2 separate regions of the Homo sapiens genome follow, and region 2 is linked to region 1. The links are contacts of gene promoters, found by promoter capture Hi-C in blood cells and fetal thymus (Javierre and others, 2016). All regions are on one chromosome and are shown on one strand. The core of a region is centred on a gene start or on the middle of the fragment in contact, and the rest is flanking DNA. Distances in the headings are between cores, read along the strand shown.

What was found. Contacts are between HindIII fragments. The CHiCAGO score rates a contact against its expected background, and 5 or more counts as called.
Region 2: a fragment that was not itself captured here is called in contact with the fragment with the promoter of PCDHGB1 in region 1 in 1 of 17 cell types (M1 macrophages); the score reaches 5.4 in M1 macrophages.

Annotation. Positions count from the first base shown.
Region 1 is chr5:141,347,697-141,354,642 of GRCh38, forward strand. It overlaps PCDHGB1 (protocadherin gamma subfamily B, 1), which reads left to right and starts at 2,403. Exons shown (of 4, transcript NM_018922.3): 1 at 2,403-4,973. The coding sequence starts at 2,565. The region is part of intron 1 of PCDHGA1 (protocadherin gamma subfamily A, 1); the gene reads left to right. All of the region lies in intron 1 of PCDHGA2 (protocadherin gamma subfamily A, 2), which reads left to right. The region is part of intron 1 of PCDHGA3 (protocadherin gamma subfamily A, 3); the gene reads left to right. It also overlaps PCDHG@. The HindIII fragment of the contact is 7,439 bases long and covers 1-6,258 here.
Region 2 is chr5:140,883,928-140,890,873 of GRCh38, forward strand. The region is part of intron 1 of PCDHA1 (protocadherin alpha 1); the gene reads left to right. All of the region lies in intron 1 of PCDHA2 (protocadherin alpha 2), which reads left to right. All of the region lies in intron 1 of PCDHA3 (protocadherin alpha 3), which reads left to right. The region is part of intron 1 of PCDHA4 (protocadherin alpha 4); the gene reads left to right. It also overlaps PCDHA5, PCDHA6, PCDHA7, PCDHA8, PCDHA9 and PCDHA10, and 4 more genes. Among named protein-coding and RNA genes, the nearest start is that of PCDHA13, 5.3 kb to the left of the region's middle. RefSeq lists an enhancer at 1-416. The HindIII fragment of the contact is 5,330 bases long and covers 739-6,068 here.

The DNA.
Region 1 (6,946 bases), core at 1,153-3,652:
GAATTGCTTAAACCCAGGAGGCAGAAGTTGCAGAGAGCCAAAATTGGGCCACTGCACTCCAGCTGGGGCAATAGAGAGAGACTCCATCTCAAAAAAAAAAAAAAAGTAGAGGCTGGTCAAATGGTTTTACCTATAGTGCCTGTTACATATGCCTAATGTATATGCTTATGTGTGTATTCATTTTGATTTCAACATTTTGCCTGAGGGTGGAAAGCTCACCTAGCTAAATTATTATGAGCCTTGGAGTGGTATTTCTTGTCCTTGAGAAGGACATCAAAAACATGTAAAGGAATATGTCTCAGCCTCTGCGGGAGATTTCCAGACAATCTCTTCCAACAATGGAATAGAAGTCCCTTCTTTTGTCATGTTCTACAACTTTCTTGAGCCAGAAATTGTTGGCTTATTCTGCAATTTATGAAATTATTTTCACTCATGAAATCATATGAGAGTTATCCAAAATTAGACCAAAATATGTTTTATTAGAACTCAAACAAAAGAATAGATTCCTCCCTCAATATATTAGGAAAAGGCACATTTAAATGTATGAGACAACAGGGCCAGAACACAAAAGCTGTAAGCAGAGTAAGGTGTATTCTCACTGAAACATGGAAATACATCACAGAATTTAAAAGGCCCATAGCCAGGGGAGGACTTCTGAGCCTAGGACTTTGAGACCTACTTGGGCAACATAGCATGACCCTGTCTCAAAAGAAAAAGGCACGTAACTTTTAACATATCATTTTTAGAAAAAAAAATGTTTATAGTATTAGTATCACTTTCCCTGTAAGGAGAAAAAAAATTAATTAGCTGTGTCAGGGGAAATTTGGATGCTCAAAGATAATTTCTAAGAATTCTATATGAAACATAGCCTACATATGTGTCATGAAAATACACTGAGAGTATGGAACCCATACAATTCCACCTACTTGTACAGGTAATGGAAGGTCTCAGACATCCCATTTTCACTAAAAAGGATTTATTTTTATTTTTTTGAAGAATGGGCAAGAATCCACTACAACAGAAAGGGAGGAGAAGTTCATAGTAAAAGGAATGGAAAGTATAAAGGCATGATGCAAGGAAACAAGTGAAAAGGTATCTTAAGAAAACAGATAATAGGCTGTTTCGAATAGAGTATGAGTATGGGTGAGCACTGCAAAATAGTAGAATAAATTGTTGAGTTGGATCTCATTTGGTAATGCATTTGAAATAAAGGGATTTGCTTTGAACCAAGACTGGTTCTAAGCCTGGAACTACAGAATAAGTTCCAAAATTGGGTGTCTAAGAACTCTGAATACCTCTCCAATATTTACCAGTGGTCAAGTCAAACTCGTTTTGCTCATTAATGGTATAAGTCGGCTGGAGCTGAGAATTGGCATTATAGAGAATGTTTTTGAGACAGAGTCTTGCTCTGTCACCCAGGATGGACTTCAGTGGCATGATCTCAACTCACTGCAACCTCTGCCTCCTGAGTTAAGTGATTCTGCTGCCTCAACCTCCCGAGTAGCTGGCGTTACAGGTACCCGCCACCATGCCTGGATAATTTTTATTTTTTTTAGTAGAGATGGCTTGCACCATGTTGGACAGGCTAGTCTCAAACTCCTGACCTCATGTGTTCTTCCCACCTTGGCCTCCCAAAGTGCTGGGATCACAGGTCACTGCACCCAGCCTAGAGTATTTAATATACATTCATATAAAAAAGAAGCACTGGTTTCATAAAACAAATGTACATTATATGAGATTCCACTTCATAAAAGCATGTATGTGTACCCCAACACTAAATTGGCCCTTTTAACAAAATATCAGACTTTGTCCTACTTAACTGGAAAGATTATCTATATTTTATAAAGAAGAGAAATAACATAATAGTAAGGCTGTGATTTCCTCTTTTTTGCAAAAACTATTTTTGAAAAGTATTACTGAATTGATAACATATATATGGAGAGATTTAAAATACTAGATAAGGGAGCTTATTCCAATGAATTTACAGAAAGGTAGGTATTTTAGTCAACTAAAAATATAAATAAAAATTATCAATTCACTTATTTGGATACAGCAGTCATGCCAGAGTTTATAAATATAGTGAAATCACTGAAGATTTTTTTTTACCCCCAAAACTGAAAAAAATGGCAGTGTACCTTGTGAATTTTTTAAATGAAAAAAGAATACGAAATGATGAAGGCCCTTATCTGATGATGACAAACTAGAAAACTGAAATGTAAAGGGGAAAATGTGAGTATGTGTTTCCCTCCAGCAAATTAAAGACAGGGTACATAGATTCAAGAGGTTGCGCTTTGAGGATAAAAAGCTGGGCCCTGTGCAGTTTTCCAAGACAACCTCTGGGCGCCGCTGTCGACCAAAAGGAAGTGAAGGCTTCTCAATTCTGCAGGAGCGTCAGGCAGGGTGCCTTCCTGCTTTGTCCGGTGCACTGAGCACAGACGCTGCTCCTGTTCACCCTCGAGCGCCTAACTAATAAGTCCTAAGCTCAAATCACAGAAGTCCAGGGTGCTGCCATTTCTTTTTGAAAAACATCCCAGAGGAAAGAAGCTCCGCGGAGAGTTCCTGAAATGCAGAGAGCCAGAGAAGCCGAAATGATGAAAAGTCAGGTACTGTTTCCCTTCCTGCTGTCTTTGTTCTGCGGGGCCATCTCCCAGCAGATCCGATACACGATTCCAGAGGAGCTAGCCAACGGCTCACGGGTGGGGAAACTTGCCAAGGATCTGGGGCTCAGTGTCCGGGAGTTGCCAACTCGAAAACTGCGGGTTAGTGCAGAGGATTATTTCAACGTTAGTTTGGAGAGCGGGGATTTGTTAGTGAACGGTAGGATAGATCGAGAGAAGATTTGCGGAAGGAAACTTGAGTGTGCACTAGAATTCGAAACGGTCGCTGAAAACCCAATGAATGTTTTCCACGTGGTTGTTGTAATCCAAGATATTAATGACAATGCACCACGTTTCGTTGCAAAAGGCATTGACTTAGAAATTTGTGAGTCAGCCTTACCCGGGGTAAAATTCTCTCTGGATTCTGCTCAAGATGCAGATGTGGAAGGCAATTCACTGAAGTTATACACCATCAACCCCAATCAATACTTCTCTCTGTCAACGAAGGAAAGTCCTGATGGAAGTAAATATCCGGTATTACTGCTGGAAAAACCTCTAGACAGGGAACATCAGAGCTCTCATCGCTTAATCCTGACTGCCATGGATGGCGGGGACCCGCCTCTAAGCGGCACCACCCATATCTGGATCCGAGTTACGGATGCCAATGATAATGCTCCCGTGTTTAGCCAGGAGGTATACAGGGTTAGCCTCCAAGAAAACGTACCGTGGGGAACCTCCGTGCTGCGGGTGATGGCCACAGACCAGGATGAGGGCATTAATGCAGAGATCACCTATGCCTTCCTCAATTCCCCAATAAGTACCAGCCTCTTCAATCTCAATCCAAATACTGGCGACATCACAACCAATGGCACATTGGATTTTGAAGAGACAAGTAGATATGTGTTGAGTGTGGAAGCTAAGGATGGAGGAGTACACACAGCTCACTGTAATGTTCAAATAGAAATTGTTGACGAGAATGACAATGCCCCAGAGGTGACATTCATGTCCTTCTCTAACCAGATTCCAGAGGATTCAGACCTTGGAACTGTAATAGCCCTCATAAAAGTGCGAGACAAGGATTCTGGGCAAAATGGCATGGTGACATGCTATACTCAGGAAGAAGTTCCTTTCAAATTAGAATCCACCTCGAAGAATTATTACAAGCTGGTGATTGCTGGAGCCCTAAACCGGGAGCAGACAGCAGACTACAACGTCACAATCATAGCCACCGACAAGGGCAAACCAGCCCTTTCCTCCAGGACAAGCATCACCCTGCACATCTCCGACATCAACGACAATGCACCTGTTTTCCATCAGGCCTCCTATGTGGTCCACGTGTCTGAGAACAACCCACCTGGCGCCTCCATTGCACAAGTAAGCGCCTCCGACCCGGATTTGGGACCCAACGGCAGAGTCTCCTACTCTATTCTGGCCAGTGACCTGGAGCCGCGGGAGCTGTTGTCCTACGTGTCCGTGAGCCCGCAGAGCGGGGTGGTGTTCGCGCAGCGCGCCTTCGACCACGAGCAGCTGCGCGCCTTCGAGCTCACACTGCAGGCCAGGGACCAGGGCTCCCCCGCGCTCAGCGCCAACGTGAGCCTGCGCGTGTTGGTGGGCGACCTCAATGACAATGCGCCACGGGTGCTGTACCCCGCGCTGGGGCCTGATGGCTCCGCCCTCTTCGATATGGTGCCACGCGCCGCAGAGCCCGGCTACCTGGTGACCAAGGTGGTGGCGGTGGACGCAGACTCAGGACACAACGCTTGGCTGTCCTACCACGTGCTGCAGGCCAGCGAGCCCGGGCTCTTCAGCCTGGGGTTGCGCACGGGTGAGGTGCGCACAGCGCGTGCCTTGGGCGACAGGGACGCGGCCCGCCAGCGCCTGCTGGTCGCTGTGCGTGATGGAGGACAGCCGCCACTCTCCGCCACCGCCACGCTGCACCTAATCTTCGCGGATAGCCTGCAAGAGGTATTGCCAGACCTCAGCGACCGCCCTGAGCCCTCTGACCCCCAGACGGAACTGCAGTTTTACCTGGTTGTGGCCTTGGCCTTGATCTCAGTGCTCTTTCTCCTCGCGGTGATTCTAGCGATCGCCCTGCGCCTGCGACGTTCCTCCAGCCTCGACACTGAGGGCTGCTTTCAAACCGGTCTCTGCTCCAAGTCTGGGCCCGGGGTTCCTCCCAACCACAGCGAGGGGACTTTGCCCTATTCCTACAATCTATGTATTGCCTCTCATTCTGCAAAGACAGAGTTTAATTCTCTCAACCTGACACCGGAAATGGCTCCCCCTCAGGATCTGCTGTGTGATGATCCTTCTATGGTTGTATGTGCCAGTAATGAAGATCACAAAATCGCTTATGACCCTTCTTTGTCTTCGCACGTGAGTTTCTGCAAATCTAGTTAAATTTTATATATGGCGGCCGGGCGCGGTGGCTCAAGCCTGTAATCCCAGCACTTAACCAGGCTGAGGCAGGTGGATCACTTGAGGTCAGGAGTTTGAGACCAGCATAGCCAAGATGGTAAAACCCGGTCTACTAAAATTACAAAAATTAGTTGGGTGTGGTGGCACGCGCCTGTAGTCCCAGTTACTCAGGAAGCTGAGACAGGAGGATCGCTTGAGCCCGGGAGGTGGAGATTGTAGTGAGCCAAGAGTGTGCCACTGCACTCCAGCCTGGGTGATGGGAGGGAAACTGTCTAAAAAAACAAACAAACAAAAATTATATATTGCATTTTCTTCTCATTGGTGTATAAGTAATTTTGATTTTCTTTCATTGTTCTAGTGATGGTATCTACTGCGGGAGGGGGTACTAGATAGATGGAGATTGCTTTCTTGATTGCTCAGTAGTCTTGGCAATTTAATTTTCAATCTTTACTGTTGGCATTTCTGTATGGTTGGCAAATCTTGCTAAAGAGACCTGTTTCCTAGATGTTAACACTTAGTAATAGCAGTGCCTTTTCTTAGTTGATATGCAATACTATATTTTCAAGTCATTTTATTCTTAGCTCTTTATAAATGTATTTAGAGTTCTTCCCACCCAAGTTAAAGTTCATCAATTACATTAATTATGTAATTGATGTAATTATGTATTAATGTAATTATGTAATTAATGTAATCTTCATCAATTACATTCTAGTTTGTCTTTTTGCAGCAACATGTATGTTTAATACAGCCTTCCAATTATTAAGACTCTTAACACTTTGTCTCATCACAAGTAGCAAATATTGTCCAATTTTATATTTGCATCACTAACTTTGAGTCAATATTATTCCCACTCTATAATTTCAGTCAATGATATTTCATAATTTTCTTAACCATTCCTAAATTATTTGTTTTTATGCTCTTTCTATTTTGTCTCTATTAAAACAAAGAATGTAATGAACATTTGGGTTTATAAAGCGTTTTCCATACTTCTTGTTTCTTTAGTGTAGATTTCTGAGGAATTAGTTAAATCTATAAACATGTTGAGATTTTTTTAATGCATACTGTCAAATTTATTTCCAAACATCTTATTTCACCTCTCAATCATCCGCAGTTTGTGCGGTCTTTGAGGATTGTGAAAAACACGTTTAATCTACTCTCTCAAAGTCTGAGGGTTTTTAAATTCTGTATAGCTAATGCCCTTTTGTATGAGTCATTTCTACTGCTAATTGTTAAGTGAGGAATAAGCTTAAGAACTGATGTACTGCTTTATCTCAAATTTTCACAGATTAGTAAATTACTGTAAGTATTCATAAGAAAGAAAGCGATGGCACATGCAATGATAATCCATGTTCGGCTACCAAAACATTTCCTTTTACTGGCTATTTCTAAAATGAGAGCTAAAGTAAAGTTAGAAATTGTAAAATAATACTGAATGTGTCATGTGAAAAAATCACTAAACTATTATCTGCACTTTATAGTTATTCAGTCTAACTTTTCTTTTTATTTCTTTTTTATTTTTAAGATCAGAGTTATTTACCCATTGTTTTAGGCTTTGCATTTGAACTGGTCATTCATGAAACATTGAAAGGTTTCATAAAAATTACTACTCTATGAAAGGTATTGTTCTAAAGATTGAGAACACATTGTGAACAAGATAGTCATATGCATAGCTTGTGGCCAAGAATCTACTGTACACAAAATTAAGGAGCAAATTCTCTTCCCAAACCTATTATCCTATTTGTCAATCTCATTTGTACAGGGTAAGGCTAACTCTTGAACAGTAGGTGAGTTTTTTGCAAGGGAATTGAAGCATTGCCCCAGGTTCTAGAGGGTCAACTCCTGTGAGGAAACTTGTTACTGCATAAATTGGGACTAAAGCCAGACCTCCAAGTTCCTGTCCCACTGTCTTTTCACTTATCTGTCTCATCCAT
Region 2 (6,946 bases), core at 2,154-4,653, 460 kb before region 1:
TTCGTGCTGGACGAGAACGACAACGCTCCGGCGCTGCTGACGCCCGGGGCTGGCAGCGCGGGAGGCACAGTGAGCGAGCTGATGCCGCGGTCGGTGGGTGCAGGCCACGTGGTGGCGAAGGTGCGCGCGGTGGACGCCGATTCGGGCTACAATGCGTGGCTTTCGTATGAATTGCAGCTGGCGGCGGTCGGCGCGCGCATCCCGTTCCGCGTGGGGCTGTACACTGGCGAGATCAGCACGACGCGCCCTCTGGACGAGGTGGACGCGCCGCACCACCGCCTTCTGGTGCTGGTGAAGGACCACGGTGAGCCCGCGCTGACGGCCACGGCAACGGTGCTGTTGTCGCTGGTGGAGAGCGGCCAAGCGCCACAGGCTTCGTCGAGGGCGTCGGCAGGCGCTGTGGGTCCAGAAGCGGCGCTGGTGGATGTCAATGTTTACTTGATCATTGCCATCTGCGCGGTGTCCAGCCTGTTGGTGCTCACGTTGCTGCTGTATACTGCGCTGCGGTGCTCGGCACCGCCCACCGAGGGCGCGTGCGCGCCGGGCAAGCCCACTCTAGTGTGCTCCAGCGCGGCAGGGAGTTGGTCGTACTCGCAGCAGAGGCGGCCGAGGGTGTGCTCTGGGGAGGGCCCGCATAAGACGGACCTCATGGCCTTCAGTCCCAGCCTTCCTCCTTGTCTGGGTTCTGCAGAGGGAACAGGCCAGAGGGAGGAGGACTCAGAATGCTTGAAAGAGGTAAGCTTATATTTTAAAAAATTGTCTTAGTAAACACTTTAGCCTTCCTTGCAGTTGTTTGTTTAAGACATCTTTCCTGCCAATTTCAAATTATTCTTTACTTTAATTTTAATTTTGCTAGTTGTTATCGAATTTAACAACTCTGCTGTGGACATTATGTGTTGGATTATCCTTCAGAGTGAAATCTTAACTCACAAACCATAATGAAATGTGCAAAACAAGAATATTTTGTTTCTGTTGTATTCTTAATAGTTCTAAGTATTTATCTTGCAATTGAGCATTTACAAAAAATTCCTCACGTTGTGAGAACTTAAACATTTAGAAAATGTTTGTTTTAATGAGGCTAATCGTAATCTTAAATTTAAAAAATTTTTAGTTTAATGTATACATATACCCACAAGATATTATTTTAAAGAGCCCCATAACTTTTCACATAAATGCTTTTTTTAAGTGCACTTTTCTTTCTTTCTTTTTTTAAACTGTTTTGATTGTCTCTACTTTTTTGTCCTCTAGGCACATCAGTGTTCCCCTCTCATATATCCCATGAAAAATATCTTGTGATTCTGCTTTCAATTTTTTATTTGCATTCAGATAATTACTCATACATATATATATACATATATAGAGAGAGACCTGGTAGGCTTTTTGTTATTATTTCTTTTCCAAAGTTTGAAGGGATTTCCAAAAGGTACTGGTGACTGAAAGTACCTTTTGGCAGTCCCTGCAAATCTAATGGTTTTAATAGCTGTGTAGTATTCCACAGTGTAAGTGTGCAATTATATATTATTTACCTAATGATGGGCAATCACTTTGTGTCAAGTGTTCTGTTATCTTCATGAACCATGCTGTGCTATCATTTCATATATTTCCCAAAATATTGGTGTTATTTCTACGAAATTGATTGTCAGATGTGGAATTGATGCATCAAAGATATTAATAATTTTAATTATAAAATATGTCACTGGATTGCCTTCCAAGTATTTTGGAACCAACCAGTTATGAGCACTCTTTCTATCTCAAGAAGCAATAGTGGTTTTACTTTCTGCTAATGTGATCTCTGTGAAATGATATTTCACTGTTACTTTAATTTTAAATTCCTGTATAGTATTAGTGAATTTGAGCATATTGTCATATGTATTTTGTTGATTTGTATTTGATCTTCTTTGATTTATCCATTAAGTTATTTGCCTACTTTTCTATTGAAAAAAAATTTTTAGTTTCAGTTTGGAAAAGTTCTCTGTACCTTATAGATATTAACTGTTTATCTATTTTTTGACATTTTTAATTAAAATTTTTATTTTGAGATAATTATAGATTCGCATGTGGTTGAAAGAAATAGTAAAGGGAGATGCTATGTATTCTTCACTAAGTTTTCCCCAATAGTAACATCTTACAAAAGCGTAGGGCCATACCACAACCTGGATATTGACATTGATACAGTAAAGAAGTAACATAGTTCCGTAACAACCAGATTCTTGATATCACCTTTTTATAGCCACATCTGCTTCCCTGCCTAATGCTGGCAAGCAGTAATCTGTTCTCCATTTCTCTAATTTTGTTACTTTTACTTCAGAAATAAATAAAAGTATCTCTATTTATAGATAAAATTTTTTAAAATTATTTTTATATTTATTTATTTTTTATTACACTTTAAGTTCTGGGATACATGTGCAGAACGTGCAGGTTTGTTACATAGGTGTACATGCCATGGTGTGCTTATCTATTATCTGCATCACAAATATGTTTTCCTCCTATATTATTTCTATTCATTTGTTTGTACTAATTTTGTCATATATAAATGTTTTTAAAATGTATGAATTAAAATATATCTTTTTCCTTTTATGGATTTTAAGGTCTGCATATTCAGTTAGAAAGGTCTTCCCAGCTGGGCACGGTGGCTCACGCCTGTAATCCCAGCACTTTGGGAGGCCAAGGTGGGCGGATCAGGAGATCAGGAGTCCGAGACCAGCCTGGCCAACATGGTGAAACCCTGTCTCTACTAAAAATACAAAAATTAGCGAGGCATGGTGGCACGCGCCTGTAATCCCAGCTACTTGGGAGGCTGAAGCAAGAGAATTGCTTGAACCCGGGAGGTGGAGGTTGCAGTGAGATGAGATCATGCTACTGTACTCCAGCTCTGGGTGACAGAGCAAGACTTCGTCTTGAAAAAAAAAAAAAAAAAAAAGAAAGGTCTTCCCAACTCCTATATTGAACATTCATTAATTAAATGCATTTAATAAATACTTATTGAGTGTTCTCTATGTGCCAGGCATGTTCTACACATTAGACATTTAGCAACGAAATTTATTATTTTGTAAATCCAAATTTCCAGTTGGTATCACTTTCCTACTGCCTGAAAAATTTCTTTAATATTTTTTATAGTGCATATGTTCTGGCAACAAATTCACTCAGCTTTTGTCTGAGAAATATCTTTATCTCTTTTTTTTTTTTTGAGACGGAGTCTCACTCTGTCGCCCAGGCTGGAGTACAGTGGCGTGATCTCGGCTCACTGCAAGCTCCACCTCCCGGGTTCACGCCATTCTCCTGCCTCAGCCTCCCGAGTAGCTGAGACTACCGGCGCCCGCCACCACGCCCTGCTAATTTTTTGTATTTTTAGTAGAGATGGGGTTTCATCTTGTTAGCCAGGATAGTCTCGAACTCCTGACCTCGTGATCCACCTGGCTCGGCCTCCCAAAGTGCTGGGATTACAGGTGTGAGCCACCGCGCCCGGCTCTTTATCTCATTTTTATTTTTGAAAAAGTATTTTCACTGGGCATAGTTGACAGTTTTTTAAAAGATATAATTCAGTTGTCTTCTGGCTTGCATAGTTTCTAATAAGATGTTTGCTTTTTTATATATGAGTCTTCCTCTCCCCACCCCTCATGGTTACTGTTAAAACTTTTCTTTTTATCCTGACTTTTGCAGATTGATTGTGATGTGCTTTAGTATGGTTTTCTTTATGTTAGTCTGTTGGGGTTTGTTGATATTCTTGGATCTGTGGATTTATCATTTTCATCAAATTCAGGAAAAAATCAACCATACTTCTTCTAATAGTTTTTTCTTTCCTTCCATCCTTTCTGAGACTCCAGTAACACATATGTTACAATGACACAGGTCATTGAAGCGTTCTTTATTTTTGTCCATTTCTTTCTCTGTGCCTCATTTTGAATATCTTTTATTGACATATTTTCCAAGTTCACTAATTTTTCCTTTTGTAGTATCATATCTGTTAATCCTAAACAGTGTATTCTTCATTTCAGAGACCATATTTATTTCTTATCTGTATAAGATTCTTTTTGTCTCTTTTAAAATTTATTTTACATGTCTCCACCGAATAGTCATCTTTTTATCTATATGTTTGAGCATATTAGTACATGTATAATAGATGTTTTAACTTTCTTGTCTGCTAATTTCAACATTTTTGTCCTTAGTTTGCTTCTTTTAATCTATCTTCTTCTATGGATATATTTTCTTGCTGTTTTGCATGACTGGTAATCTCTAATAAGATGCTAGACATTGTGAATTTTACATTGTCGGATGCTGGATTTTGTGTGTGTGTGCATGTGTGTGCGTGTTCCTTTAAAGCAGTAGTTCTTGATAAGAAACAGTTTTGTCCCCTCTACCCCCTACCCAGGAGATAATTTGGCAATGCCTGGATACATTTTTGGTTATTACAACTAGGGAATTGCTACTGGCATCTAATAATGGAGCTCTGAGATGCTGCTAAACACCATCCAATTGCTGCCAAACATCCTACCGTGCACAGGACAGCCGCCCAACAATAAAGAATTAGCTCAAAATGTCAGTAGTTCCACTGTTGAGAAACTCTGCTTTAAAGAGTCTTGGACTTAGTTCTGACGTGAAGTTAAGTTGCTCAGTACCAATTTATTCCTTTCAAGGCTTCATTTTAAGATTTGTTAGTACACATTCAGAGCAGCTTTTAGTGTAGCACTAATTCGGCCTTCTATTACAGCAATACTTTCCTGAGGACACCACCTAATGCCCTGTGCATTAAGAGGTCTCTCTTCTCTGATTGGTAGGAATGTGAAATATTTCCAGCCCTTTGTGAGCTCTAGGAATTATTCTACCCACTTTTTTTTTTAATTTTGAAGGGATAGCCTGATCTGGGGAGGTTGATCAGTGATCTGTGATCTGTGATCACATCACTCCACTGCAGCCTGGTGACAGAGTGAGACCATGTCTCAACATAAAAATTAAAACATTAGAATTGAGGTTTAATGTTATCAAATATTTTATCTGCATCTTTTGAGGGAGGTATAAATTTTTTCTTTGGCAATGTTAATGTGTTGAATTTATGATTTATGATTTTCTTATGGCAAACCAACCTCTACTTCCTTGGATAACCGTAATTTGATTATAATTTATAATCCTTTTAATATACTACTTATTTTGTTAAATTTTCAAAACAATTTTTTCATCTTTATTCCAGGTGATACTGATATGTCCTAGTTTTTCTTCCTAATTTCTTCTTTGTTAAGTATTCAAGTTATAAATAAGAATCTAGCATAACTTGAATACTTAACAAAGAAGAATAGTCTTTGAAAACTTCCAGAAAATTTTCTGTTTCCTGTAAAAGTTTGTATAATCTTTGAATTACTTCTTATTTGATTGGAGAACTCACTGTTGAAGTTATCTGTATCAGGATTTTGATTGGTGGGAATATTTCTGATTACTGACTCAATTTTAATAGTATAAGGACCATTCAGAGTTTAATTTACTCGAGTCAGTTACGTAGATAATATTTTTTCAGGTATTTTCCTGTTTAATCTAAATTTTCAGTTATATGCTCATACTTTCTACAGAATCTATAGTGATATTTCCCTTTCCATTCTTGATATTATTTTTGCTTCCTGTCTAATTTACTTTTCTTCAGAATTCTGCTTTCTGATTTTTGTTTTTGCTTTGAAATATTTTTATATTAATTATACTGATTCATTTCTCTTCTTTTCATTTGTGTTTGCAGGAGATGTCCTCTTCCCAGCCTTTTATTTTAAACCTTTTAGTATTATGGGCATATTCCACAAGTTCTTTGCTACTGTCTCACTGAGTAGCAGAGTCTAATTTTTCTTTCCTTGAACTTTGACTGGTCTTAATATTGGAAGTAACATTCTGGGATTTATGAAGTCAGGTCATAAGAAGTCTTACAGTATGCTTTGGTCTCTGAGAATATTTGTTTTGGGGGAAGCCTGCCACCATGTAAGAATTCTGACTACCTTGAGATTGTCATACTGTAAAGAAGCTCAAGCTGGACTTGTGAGAAGCCAAATGGATAGAAAAATTACTATCCAGTCTCCAGTTGTCTTAGCTTTCCAAGCTTAGGTGCCAGAAAAATGTAGAAGGCTTCAGGTGACTGTAGTGTGTTGGAGCTGGCTCTTTTACTGGCTTATGAGAACTGATAATGCAAATTTATTCCCAACTCTGGATTCAATGATGTCACTTTGGTAGCTTGAAATTGGCCATGGTAGGAGTATTTCTGCCACAGAAATAGGCAAATGCTACAAAACAGAGTTTTTTGTTTTTCTTTTTTCCCAGAGACCTAGTTGTTAAGCATTTACCAGTACACTACTGCACCTGATTGCAAGCAAGAACCACTCAGTTGAGTCAGAACCAGGAGAGGTAATATTAAGTTGTTTTAAGATATTAGGTAGTTGGGATGGTTTACTATATAGCAATGGATAACCTGAACAAGTACTCTTTCTTAGATAATCTATAAATTTTAACTTGAATATTTATTTAGTTTATATTTACAATACCTAGTGATATCTTTAGGCACAAATATTTCAATTTTTTGTGCGTTATTTTTGTCTCACCATTTTTATGTCTCTATTTCCTTCCTTTGTTGATCTTCTTTTGAAATGACTGAGTACTTTTTATTGTTCCATTTCCTTCTGTATTATTTGGAAGCCCTTTTCCGAATAGCTAGTGCTTACCCTAGAAAATTAAGCATGTATCCTTGATATATCAAAATCAAAAGTTAACTGAAACCCTTCCTCCTTCTGGGAAATGCAGGGACCTTACATTTTTAAAATCTTTTTAATCCCTTTTGACTTATATACTATTTCTGTCATGCTTTAAAAATATTTTAAAACCCCATAAGATATTAGTATTATTTTATACAATCAACATTGTTTTAAATGTACTTACATATTTACCAGTTTTGTTTCTCTTCCTTACTTCTTGCCCCTCTGAC